3 separate regions of the Homo sapiens genome follow, and all the other regions are linked to region 1. The links are contacts of gene promoters, found by promoter capture Hi-C in human tissues and cell types (Jung and others, 2019). All regions are on one chromosome and are shown on one strand. Each heading gives the region's core, a stretch centred on a gene start or on the middle of the fragment in contact. The rest is flanking DNA. Distances are from core to core; before and after follow the strand shown.

Region 1 (3,371 bases), core at 1-2,500:
CGGCCAAAGCTCGTGACCCGGAAGTCAGACCTGCGGCTGCTGCAGAGGACAGAGGTGAACAGCAAACGGGATGAACACTCACTGTGTGCTCCATGACAGCCACCCCGGCCCCCACAGCCTCACACCACAGGATGGGACCAGTATGATCCTGAGAGGCTCCCAGAGATGTCCAGCCTTGACCAAGACCGTCTGTCCACCCAGCCTCACAGAAACCTGGCAGGGAGCAAAGCCCTCCAAACCACTTTGCAGAGCTACCCTAAAGGCAGGGACAAAGGCGGGGCGCGGAGGCTCACGCCCGTGATCCCAGTACTTAGGGAGGCTGAGGCAGGAGGGTTGCTGGAGGCCAGTTCAAGGATGCAGTGAGCTATGATTGCACCACTGCACTGCAGCCTGGGCGACAGAATGAAACCCTATCTCTTAAAAAAAAAAAATGACAGGGACCGAAACAGATGTGACTTCAGGCTGACAATGTTTGAGGATCGGAGAAAGAAGAATCAGGCTGCGGGGGGCTTCGCTGAGGACAAGGGCAAAGGGTGGGAAGCAAGACAAAGCAAAAGCTCTCAAACGGCCCCAATGGCTGAGGCAATACCCTGAACCGCAGGTCCTCAGGCCTGTGCCCGGCTTCCAAACCGGACTCGACCCAGTGGCCTCCATCTGCCCCAGACCCCAAGGCACGGGTTCCGAGCTCCACGTCCCCATCGAAAGCCCCAGCTCGCCCGCTGCTTCCCAACCACCAACTCTGCCAGCCTCGGATGCTGAAGACTCCATGGGGTTCAGGACGCAAGGACAAATAGCGACGCTGAATCACAGAGAAGGGCAGAGTCTGGGGGCGCCCCCCGTCCCCATTCGCGGCTTCCTCCTCCTCTCGCCGCCACGCGCGCCGCACCAGCCCAAGCCGCCCACCCACCCCTAAGCACCGCACCCAGACGTCTCGAAACCCCCTCCCTTCCCCGCTGCCGGCTCAGGTCGGGTCCAGCGCCTGGTATCCCCGGCGACCTCTGGGCCTCCCGTATCGGCCCGGCCCTTCATCGCTGCTGCTCCGACGAGAGTACGAGGAGACGCCGTGCTCGACCCCACCTCGGGCCCCTACACCCGCCGCCCGCGCCCCCGCCCCCAACACCAGGCGCGGCTCACCTGCATGATGGTCTTGCGGATTTTCCAGAGCCGGTACGTCTCCTCCTCGTCGTCCATGGCAGCCTCCGCCGCCGCCGCCGCTCGCACCCCTTCTCCGCGCGAGAACCCGCGCGGACTGCGCCTGCGCCGAATCCGAATCAGGCCCCCTCCGCCTAACCCCGCCCCGCGCTGGTCTGTCGTCGGCGAATGCCTGAATGCAGCAACGTCTCGGATCGGCAGCGCCAAGGGCAGCCCGAGCCTTACGAGAGCGGCAGTTGGCTGAGCGAGTCTCTCGCCTCCGTAGTTCTCGTGTGTCTTTGGCCGCACAGCCTCTCGGGAGTTGTAGTTTCCGTTCAACTCCCACCTTGGAGCAACAGTTTAGAATCCCACGAGGCGGGGGCGAAGTGTGAGCGGGGAAACTGAGGCCTGGATGGGGTCAAGGGGCAGCTCGGCTCCTAGGGATGGTCTGGGAGCCTAGTGGGAACTCTATAAATATTTGTGCATCAAACTGTACAGGGTTTCCTCCATTGGCTCCTGGCCAGGTCAGGGTTAATTCCCTTGGGCCTCAGTTTCCCTACCTGTGCAATGGCAATAAAGTGTCCCTACTTTAGACGGTTAACTGAGAGTCTTAGGCATCTCTCTAGGTGCTTATTAAGTCCCCTCACCTCTGTCCTCTCCCCTGAGCGCCACCAGCCTAGCCTGGGTATCTCCCCAGCCTAGCCTGGGTATCTCCCCACCCCAGACTCTTCCTGTCTTTGCAAACCTCCTCACTTCCCCAGGTTCACGGAGAACCCCAGCCCAACACTTCCTGTGTGCAGGCTATCAGTAACTTATTCAGTGATGCATTCGTTAATTCAACATTTACTCAGCAACCTACAGTGATGGTGAATAAAACAGGCCAAGTATCCCTTGCATTCAGATAAAGACAGGATTTAGTAAAATATAATAAATAACGTGGCCGGGCGCGGTGGCTCATGCCTATAATCCCAGCACTTTGGGAGGCTGAGGCGGGCAGAGCATGAGATCAGGAGTTCAAGACCATCCTGGCTAACACGGTGAAACCCCGTCTCTACTAAAAATACAAAAAATTAGCTGGGCCAGGTGGCAGGTGCCTGTAGTCTCAGCTACTTAGGAGGCTAAGGCAGGAGAATCTCGTGAACCTGTAAGGTGGAGGTTTCAGTGAGCCAAGATCGTGCCACTGCACTCCAGCCTGGACAACAGAGCAAGACTCTGTCTCAAAAATAAAATGAAATGAAATAAAATAAAATAAATAACAACGTTAGAAAGTGACAAAGCTACGGAAGAAGAAAGAGCAGGGAGGCTAAGTGACATGGGGAGAATGGGAGAACTGCAGTATCACATGGGGAGGTCAGGGAATACAGTGAGGATAGATTCAAGCAAAAATCCCATTAGCAGTGGTGGCTCATCACTGTAATCCCAGCACTTTGGGTGGCCGAGGCAGGCAGAGCATGAGATCAGGAGTTCCAGACCAGCTTGGCCAACATGGTGAAACCCTGTCTCTACTAAAAATACAAAAATTAGCCAGGTTTGGTGGTGGGTGCCTGTACTCCCAGTTACTCGGGAGGCTGAGGCAGGAGAATCACTTGAACCCGGGAGGCGGAGGTTGCAGTGAGCCGAGATCGCACCACTGCACTCCAGCCTGGGTGACAGAGCAAGACTCCATCGAGAAAAAAAAAAAAAAATCCCATTGGGCGCGATAGCTCACACCTGTAATCCCAGCACTTTGGGAAGCTGAGAGGGGAGGATCCCTTTGTTGTAGTTTTGTAATTTTTAGTTGTAAGTCACGGACTTTTTTACACTGATATTTGAGATTCTTTTTGGGGGGCTGTCAGGGGCTACTTTTTTTTTTTTTCCTGACACGGAATCTCGCTCTGTCCCCCAGGCTGGAGTGCAGTGGCAGGATCTCGGCTCACTGCAAGCTCCACCTCCCGGGTTCACGCCATTCTTCTGCCTCAGCCTCCCGAGTAGCTGGGACTACAGGCACCTGCCACCACGCCCGGCTAATTTTTTGTATTTTTAGTAGAGACGGGGTTTCACCGTGTTAGCCAGGATGGTCTCCATCTCCTGCCCTCATGATCCGCCCGCCTCGGCCTCCCAAAGTGCTGGGATTACAGGTGTGAGCCACCCCGCCCGGTCTGTGCAGGCTTTCTTATCTAACTACCTAACTTTTCTTTCTCACCTTGAGGCCAGGAGTTTGAGACAAGCCTAGGCAACATAGGAAGACCCCATTTCTTTTT
Region 2 (3,371 bases), core at 410-2,909, 420 kb before region 1:
GCCCTGCTCCCCAAGCCGGGGAGATTCCCGGGGGAAATGCCAGAGGCCAAGGCCAGGTCGAGACGGCGGGGTGTCCCCCCTCAGTGAGAATACAGGGTCCCGTCCCTGCCCTGCTCCCCAAGCCGGGGAGATTCCCGGGGGAAATGCCAGAGGCCAAGGCCAGGTCAAGACGGCGGGGTGTCCCCCCTCAGTGCCACTAAGGCAGAACTTGGCCCCTGGCCACTGGCTGCTGGGGGACACAGGCTGGGCAGCTAAGGTGGAGGAAAGGGTACAGGTGTGTCTTCTGTGGGCACAGATCTCACTCAGGCCAGAGAAGGGGCTGTGCCGTGGGGCTGCTGGACACGTCCGTTTCCACCTGCGGGGTGGGCAATGCCGGCACAGCGAGTGGCCAGACACAGGCATGCCCAGCAGACACCCAACCGCTCTCCACCACCTCAACCTTCTGTATTTTCCTGAAAGCATTTACCACTCCTTGAAGTTATAGATTAATTTGTCTCTGCATTTTGTTGTCCAAACCAGGAGCTCGGTGAGGGTGTGATGGGGTCTGCCTTGGTCACCGTGGCACCCCAGCACCCCGCAGGGTCCCTCTGGCCAAAAGAGATGTTCACTGATGCCCTAGAAGCAGGAACAGAGGGGCTCCCCTGCGCTCGCCAAGGGCGCCTGACAAATCTGGAGGCCCCCATGACAGAATCAGCTCCAGAGTAGGAAATGTGTCTGGCTGCACGAAAGCCCCCTCGGGCGCAGCGCCTCCAGGCCCACGCAGATGTCGCTGTCATACATTGTTGGAAACGCCTCTGCTGGAAACAGTGTTTGCTGAATCTTGGAGGGAGAGGAAAAAACCTAGTAAACATTCTTGTTGAGGTGATCTGGGGGAATGTCTGCAAAGGCTTGGAGGGCTGATGGGGCAGAGCTGCCCAGGGGCCCAGGACAAAGGCCAGGCGTGCGCGCGCACACACACACACACACACACACACACACGCAGTGGCCTCCCTGGGGGCCGTGGCTGGGCGAGGCCTGCTGTTGTCCGAGATGCTGGAAGGAGCTGTGTCTCTGGGTCTGTCCCGGCCGCACCCCGTTCTGTCCCACACCCAACCACTCCCCACCCACAGGCCGGCTCCAGCGGCCAGGTGGACGGGTGCGCGGCCCGCGCTGTGAGCAGGGAACCATATCCAGCTGAGGTTTTGGGTGTGTGGGGCGGGTCGGGAACAAGGAGGCCGGGTTGGGGGGCTCAGACCACACTTGGACCATGAAAGTGACCACATGCAAATCACAGAAACGGGATGCAGGGATCCACAGACGTGCTCCTCTTGGGTCCCCGTTACCTCACCGCCACCCCTGAAACTGAAGACCCCCAAACCCACTTTAATTCCTGGAGACGGCCCCTCGATCCACCCAAAAGGCTGCCACCACCTCGAACCCACACCCCTGTCCCGGTTCCGCCCTGGGTCCAGCCACATCTCCCCAAATGCATTCTCTGGCTCCGGAAGGGGACCCGGGCGCTCGCCCCCAACTGCCCCCCGCAGCGGCCGGGCCCGGCGCCTGCCCACCCCGCGCGGGACACGGCCTCGCCCCCGCCACTCCCGCGCCGCGCCCCGCCCCGCGCCCCGCCCCGCCCGCGGCCCGCGGGACCTTTATAGGGAGCGCCGGCCGCGCGCTGGGAAGTCGGTGCCGCTGCCGTCTCTGCGTTCGCCATGCGTCCCGGGGCGCCAGGGCCACTCTGGCCTCTGCCCTGGGGGGCCCTGGCTTGGGCCGTGGGCTTCGTGAGCTCCATGGGCTCGGGGAACCCCGCGCCCGGTGAGTGGGGCGGCCAGAGGGGCGGGCGGGGCGGGCCACCCACGTGGGGCTGCGCGGAATGCGGCCGGGGGGACGTCGGGGGGCGCGGCGGCGGCGGCGGGGGCGAGGGCGGTGTCCGGCGCAAGCTGGAGCCGGGAAGGTCTGAAGGAGGGTCACCAAGAGGTCAGCAGAGCAGAGGTTTCTAATCACAATGACCGCTGACATTTATTGAGCGCTTAGTGTCTACCTCTCCCCTCCCTGAACCTGTGCCATCCCGATAGTGCCGGAGCTCTCTTCATCTCCGTCTTCCAGATGGGGAAACTGAGGCTCAGGGTCACACAGCCTGTAGCAGGCAAAGCCAGGGTTCTAGCCGCGACCGTCCGGGTCGGTCCTGGTGCCGAGAGGTAGTGCTGGGTGTCGGGAGCCAGGCCCTCCAGCTGGGGCTGAGAGCTTTCCCGGGTCCTGGGTAGACGGGGCATGGAGTCTCACACCTGGGACTTGCCGGGAGGTGCCAGGCAGGAGACGGCCCCACTCCTGGCCTCAGTTTCCCCTCCTATGATGGGTGCCAAGGTGCTGCGTTCCACAAGCTGGTCCCTGGCAGTGTCTGTGAACCAGCAAGCGCTCTGGGATGGGGGCTGTGGCCGTTCCTGCCCCCAGGGACGGGGGAAGAAATGGGGGGCTCTCTGGCTCCCCACCCCCCATCCCTGCAGCCCCACCCCACCCCAGCCCTGCGCCAAAGGGAGAGCAGAGCCCCCTCCCCGAAGGCCACGTCCCTGGGGAGACAGTGAGCTCATGCAAGGGGAATGTTCCCAAGTTGGAGTGAGTAAGAGGCGGGCCAGGCGGTGGGGGGGCTGCCAGGCGCGGGGCTCCGCGTGCCCTCGCCCTCGGGTGCTGTCTAGACAGAGGGCAGAGGCGGGAGAAGCGGCTCCAGGGCCTGCTGACCCTGACATGCCCAGTGCCTGGTGTTTGGTGGTGTTTGAGGGGTTGGGCAGGGTGCCAGCCCCTGGCCTGGGGGCTTGGAGGGTACGGGAAGGGACCTCCTGGGGTGGGTGGGGGTTGGTGGTGAGGCTGTGGGGGGGGGCACGTGGAGCTCAGAGGGGAGGAGACATTTCCAGGGTTCTGGAGCCAGGGTGGGGACACCCATGTGGTTTTCTGCCCCTTCTTCCTGGGTGGGGGTAGATCATTCCGTGCGTAACTACTCAGCACCACCTGCATGCATCTGTGGGCGGGCCAGAAGCTGGGTGTCAGGAGTGGCCCAGGAGAGCACCCCGTTCCCCGGCCCGCAGGTGGTGTTTGCTGGCTCCAGCAGGGCCAGGAGGCCACCTGCAGCCTGGTGCTCCAGACTGATGTCACCCGGGCCGAGTGCTGTGCCTCCGGCAACATTGACACCGCCTGGTCCAACCTCACCCACCCGGGGAACAAGATCAACCTCCTCGGCTTCTTGGGCCTTGTCCACTGCCTTCCCTGCAAAGGTGAGACCTCAGGCCAGAAGCAGGGCAGACGTCTCAGCTCAGGACCAGCCACAAACAGTCATGGTGGTCGAGGGCCGAACGTCCAGGGACTGAGCCCGTCACAGGGGTATGTAGGAGGCTGCAGGG
Region 3 (3,371 bases), core at 600-3,099, 320 kb after region 1:
CCCCAGTGGCCCAGAGCTAGCAGCAGCGCGCAGCGTGCCCAGCTGTGCTTGTAGCCTTGGCTCTAACCCTTGGCTTTGCCAGAGAGACTGAGGCACAGAGGAGTTGAGGGATGGGCCCGGGGTCACCCCAGGGGGTGGAAGATCCGGAGCTGGGAGTCCACACTCCTCCACTGCCCGCCCCGCACAGAGGGCGCTCCTGGTCAGGCGGCTATGTTCATGGTGCGACCCGTCAATCTGAGGTTGTGCTGTCTTCTGTGAACTGAGGCCTTTTCCCATCCAGGCCTGGTCCCCGTGACACCATGTCATGATGTCAGAATCCCTGAGAGCTGTGACAGGGCTTTTGGCAGAGGCCAGTCATTCGACAGATGCTTATAGGCTGAGCTTCCAGCTTGGCTCCAGGCGTTGCCAAGGAGAACACTGGTCCGCCTGGGAGGGCGGGGCTGGCAGGGAGAGGATGAGGGTGACCACAGTTAGCACCCAGGATGTGGGCATTCAGGGGCTCCTTCAGCACACAGCAGCGCGTTCCAGTTCACGGACCGCTCCTGTGTTCTGTGGACCCCACACCCTGCAGGCGTGGGCTGGAGGGGGGGCATCTGACCCTGCTGGGGAGAGGGAGTCCAGGCTATGGAGGGGCGGGCTGGGCTCACTGGCCTGAGGCAGTGGGTGAAGTGGTCCTGGTTTCCCACCTGGTCTTAGGGGCAGGAAAGTCCCTAGAGGCTCTTCCTGATGCTCTGGAAGAAGAGAAGGGTTCCCCACACATCAGCCGCCACTGGGCCTGGACTTCTGCCTCTTGAGATTGTGCACGGAGCTGAGTGTGACTGGCGGAGCCCAGAGCCAGGTGGGGTCTGTGGGGAGGCAGGCTCCTCCTGGCTTGGTCCCCCGGCCCAGCAGGAAGGGAAAGGTCGCCTGCCAACTGCCCCCATTGAGGCTGCTGGCCCCGAATGGCCGGGCTGGCCGCCGGTTTTTGAAGCCCACTCTGGTGCTGCCAGGAGGTCAGGGCTCTTTGTGGTCAGCCTAGGCCAGAGGAAGCCTCTGCAGATGGACTTTACGCATAAATACCGCACAGGCACCCGAATGGCACGCAGCAAGCGAGGTTGCCATCCAAAACGGCTTTTGCTTTAACAGGCAGAAGAGGGTGGCTGCGCCGGCCACCGTGGATTGAGCACCTGCCAGGTGTCGAGCTGCAGGCCCTGGGTGCCAGGCTTGCAGATCCTGGGAGATGTTCATCATGACCTTTGATGGGCAGACTGCACGCTGGACTCCAGGTTGCAAGGGAAGAAGTGGAGCTCGTCCCACGCCTCCCCCACTAATGAGAACACCCCTTTTGGGTTTGTGGGGTGTGAGGTCTGTAGGAGCCACGACTTCCAGTGTCGGAGATGCCGTCAGCTGGGTGATGACTCTCCCACCCAGCGGGCCCCTCAGAGGCAGGGTGCAGGAGCCACATTGCTCACCGACCCCTTCATCTGCGTAGGCCAGTGTTGCCTTGCCCCGTTAACGTCCTCAGTCCACACGCCGCCAGCCAAGGTGCAGGCTGAGCAAGCCTGGAGCTGAGGACAAGCGGACCGCCAGCCCCGTAGCAAGCCCACGAGAGCCAGCAGCTCCTCCTTTTGGCCTCTGCCCGCGCCCGGCTTCCTGGACTCCGACGTTTACTTGTGTGAGAGTTGGTTCTGCTGCCTGGGCAGTTGATGGACAGTGTCTGGGAGGTGCCTGCCCAGGGCTCCGCATGTTTCTGATGTGCCGGCTTCTCACTCACGACCTGGTGAGGTTGGCAGCCAGGAGCTTTCTTATTTTATTGATTAAAACATCCTGAGATTCAGAAGTAGGGACTTTGTGCCAGGGCCCTGGAGGCAGTCCCTGCCACTGAAGAGATGACCCTGCTTTCCGGGACTTCCCGGAGGCTTCTGTCTGTAGACCAGGGAGAAGGTGTTCGCCGGTGGCTCCTGAGTGGTAGTAAAAGACACATGGACACAGGAAGCTTTAGCGTTAGAAGCTGCTCTCAAATATCTCAACAGAAACACACAGTGTGGCCGCGCGCGGTGCCTCACGCCTGTCATCCTAGCACTTTGGGAGGCCGAGGCGGGCGGGTCACCTGCGGTGGGGAGCTCCAGACACAGCTATGTGAAACGAAAGCTATCTGTTGCTGTCTCAGATTCCATAAGGACTGAGACTTGTTTCAAAAGAAACTGAAATTCTGTCTTGTTCTCAGTAATGAAAGTCTTTTATACCATAATTGTATATATAACTTCTGACTTACAGGAAAATTACAAAAATTCCCATATCCTCTTGGCCCTGCCAGACTCACCATTGGCTGACATTTTACCCTTTGGCACGTGGTGCCTCTTGCCCCACCCCCAGTGAACTGTGTGTGTGTGTGTGTGTGTGTGTGTGTGTGTGTGTGTGTGTTTAGATGGACCCTCACTCTGTCGCCCAGGCTGGAGTGCAGTGGCTTGATCTTGGCTCAGTGCAACCTCCGCCTCCCGGGTTCAAGCAGTACACCTCGAGCTCAGCCTCCCGAGTGGCTAGGATTACAGGTGCGCACCACCGAGCCCAGCTAATTTTTGTATTTTTAGTAGAGATGGGGTTTTGCCATGTTGGCCAGGCTGGTCTCGAACTCCTGACCTCAGGTGATCCGCCCACCTCAGCCTTGCAAAGTGCTGGGATTACAGGCGTGAGCCAGTGCACCCATCCCCACTGTGTGTGTTTCTACTGAAATATTTGAGAGTAGCTGGAGACCGATGCAGTCCCCTTTATGTGTACACTGAGATATCTATTGTTTCCCAAGAACAATGACATTCTCTCACATGAACACAGCACAGTGATCAAAATTGAGAAAGTGGCCGGGCGCAGCTACTCACGCCTGTCATCCCAGCACTTTGAGAGGCCGAGGCTGGTGGATCACGAGGTCAAGAGATTGAGACCATCCTGGCCAATATGGTGAAACCCCGTCTCTACTAAAAATACAAAAATTAGCTGGCGGGCGCCTGTAGTCCCAGCTACTCGGGAGGCTGAGGCAGGAGAATCGCTTGAACCCGGGAGGCGGAGGTTGCAGTGAGCTGAGATCGCGCCACTACACTCCAGCCTGGGCAACACAGCGAGACAATTTTTCAAAAAAAAATTGAGAAAGTATTTATTATTTTTTAAAATTGTATTTGAGTATTTTTTATTTTTTTAATTTTATTTAAGAGTATTTTTTATTTTTTTTTTAATTTTATTTAAGAGATGAGATCTCTGTCACCCCTGCTGGAGTGCAGTGACACAATCACGGCTCACTGCAGCCTCGACCTTGACTCAAACGATCCTTCTGCCTCAGCCTCCCAAGTAGCTGGGACTACAGGTGCCTGCCACCACCTGGAGTCTCGTTACGTTGCCCA

Evidence for each region. The method cuts DNA at HindIII sites, captures the fragments that hold promoters and counts their contacts. A contact is called where the count stands out against the background at its distance.
Region 2: the fragment with the promoter of FSTL3 here is called in contact with the fragment with the promoter of POLR2E in region 1 in 2 of the 25 tissues and cell types used here (dorsolateral prefrontal cortex and lymphoblastoid cells).
Region 3: a fragment that was not itself captured here is called in contact with the fragment with the promoter of POLR2E in region 1 in 1 of the 25 tissues and cell types used here (spleen).

Annotation. Positions count from the first base shown.
Region 1 is chr19:1,094,125-1,097,495 of GRCh38, forward strand. POLR2E (RNA polymerase II, I and III subunit E) reads right to left here and starts at 1,251. Exons shown (of 8, transcript NM_002695.5): 1 at 1,135-1,251. The coding sequence starts at 1,191. RefSeq lists enhancers at 1-437, 1,195-1,284. The HindIII fragment of the contact is 36,385 bases long and covers 1-3,371 here.
Region 2 is chr19:674,733-678,103 of GRCh38, forward strand. It overlaps FSTL3 (follistatin like 3), which reads left to right and starts at 1,660. Exons shown (of 5, transcript NM_005860.3): 1 at 1,660-1,794; 2 at 3,060-3,245. The coding sequence starts at 1,692. The HindIII fragment of the contact is 14,894 bases long and covers 1-3,371 here.
Region 3 is chr19:1,411,630-1,415,000 of GRCh38, forward strand. The region is part of intron 1 of DAZAP1 (DAZ associated protein 1); the gene reads left to right. Among named protein-coding and RNA genes, the nearest start is that of DAZAP1, 5.7 kb to the left of the region's middle. The HindIII fragment of the contact is 3,172 bases long and covers 264-3,371 here.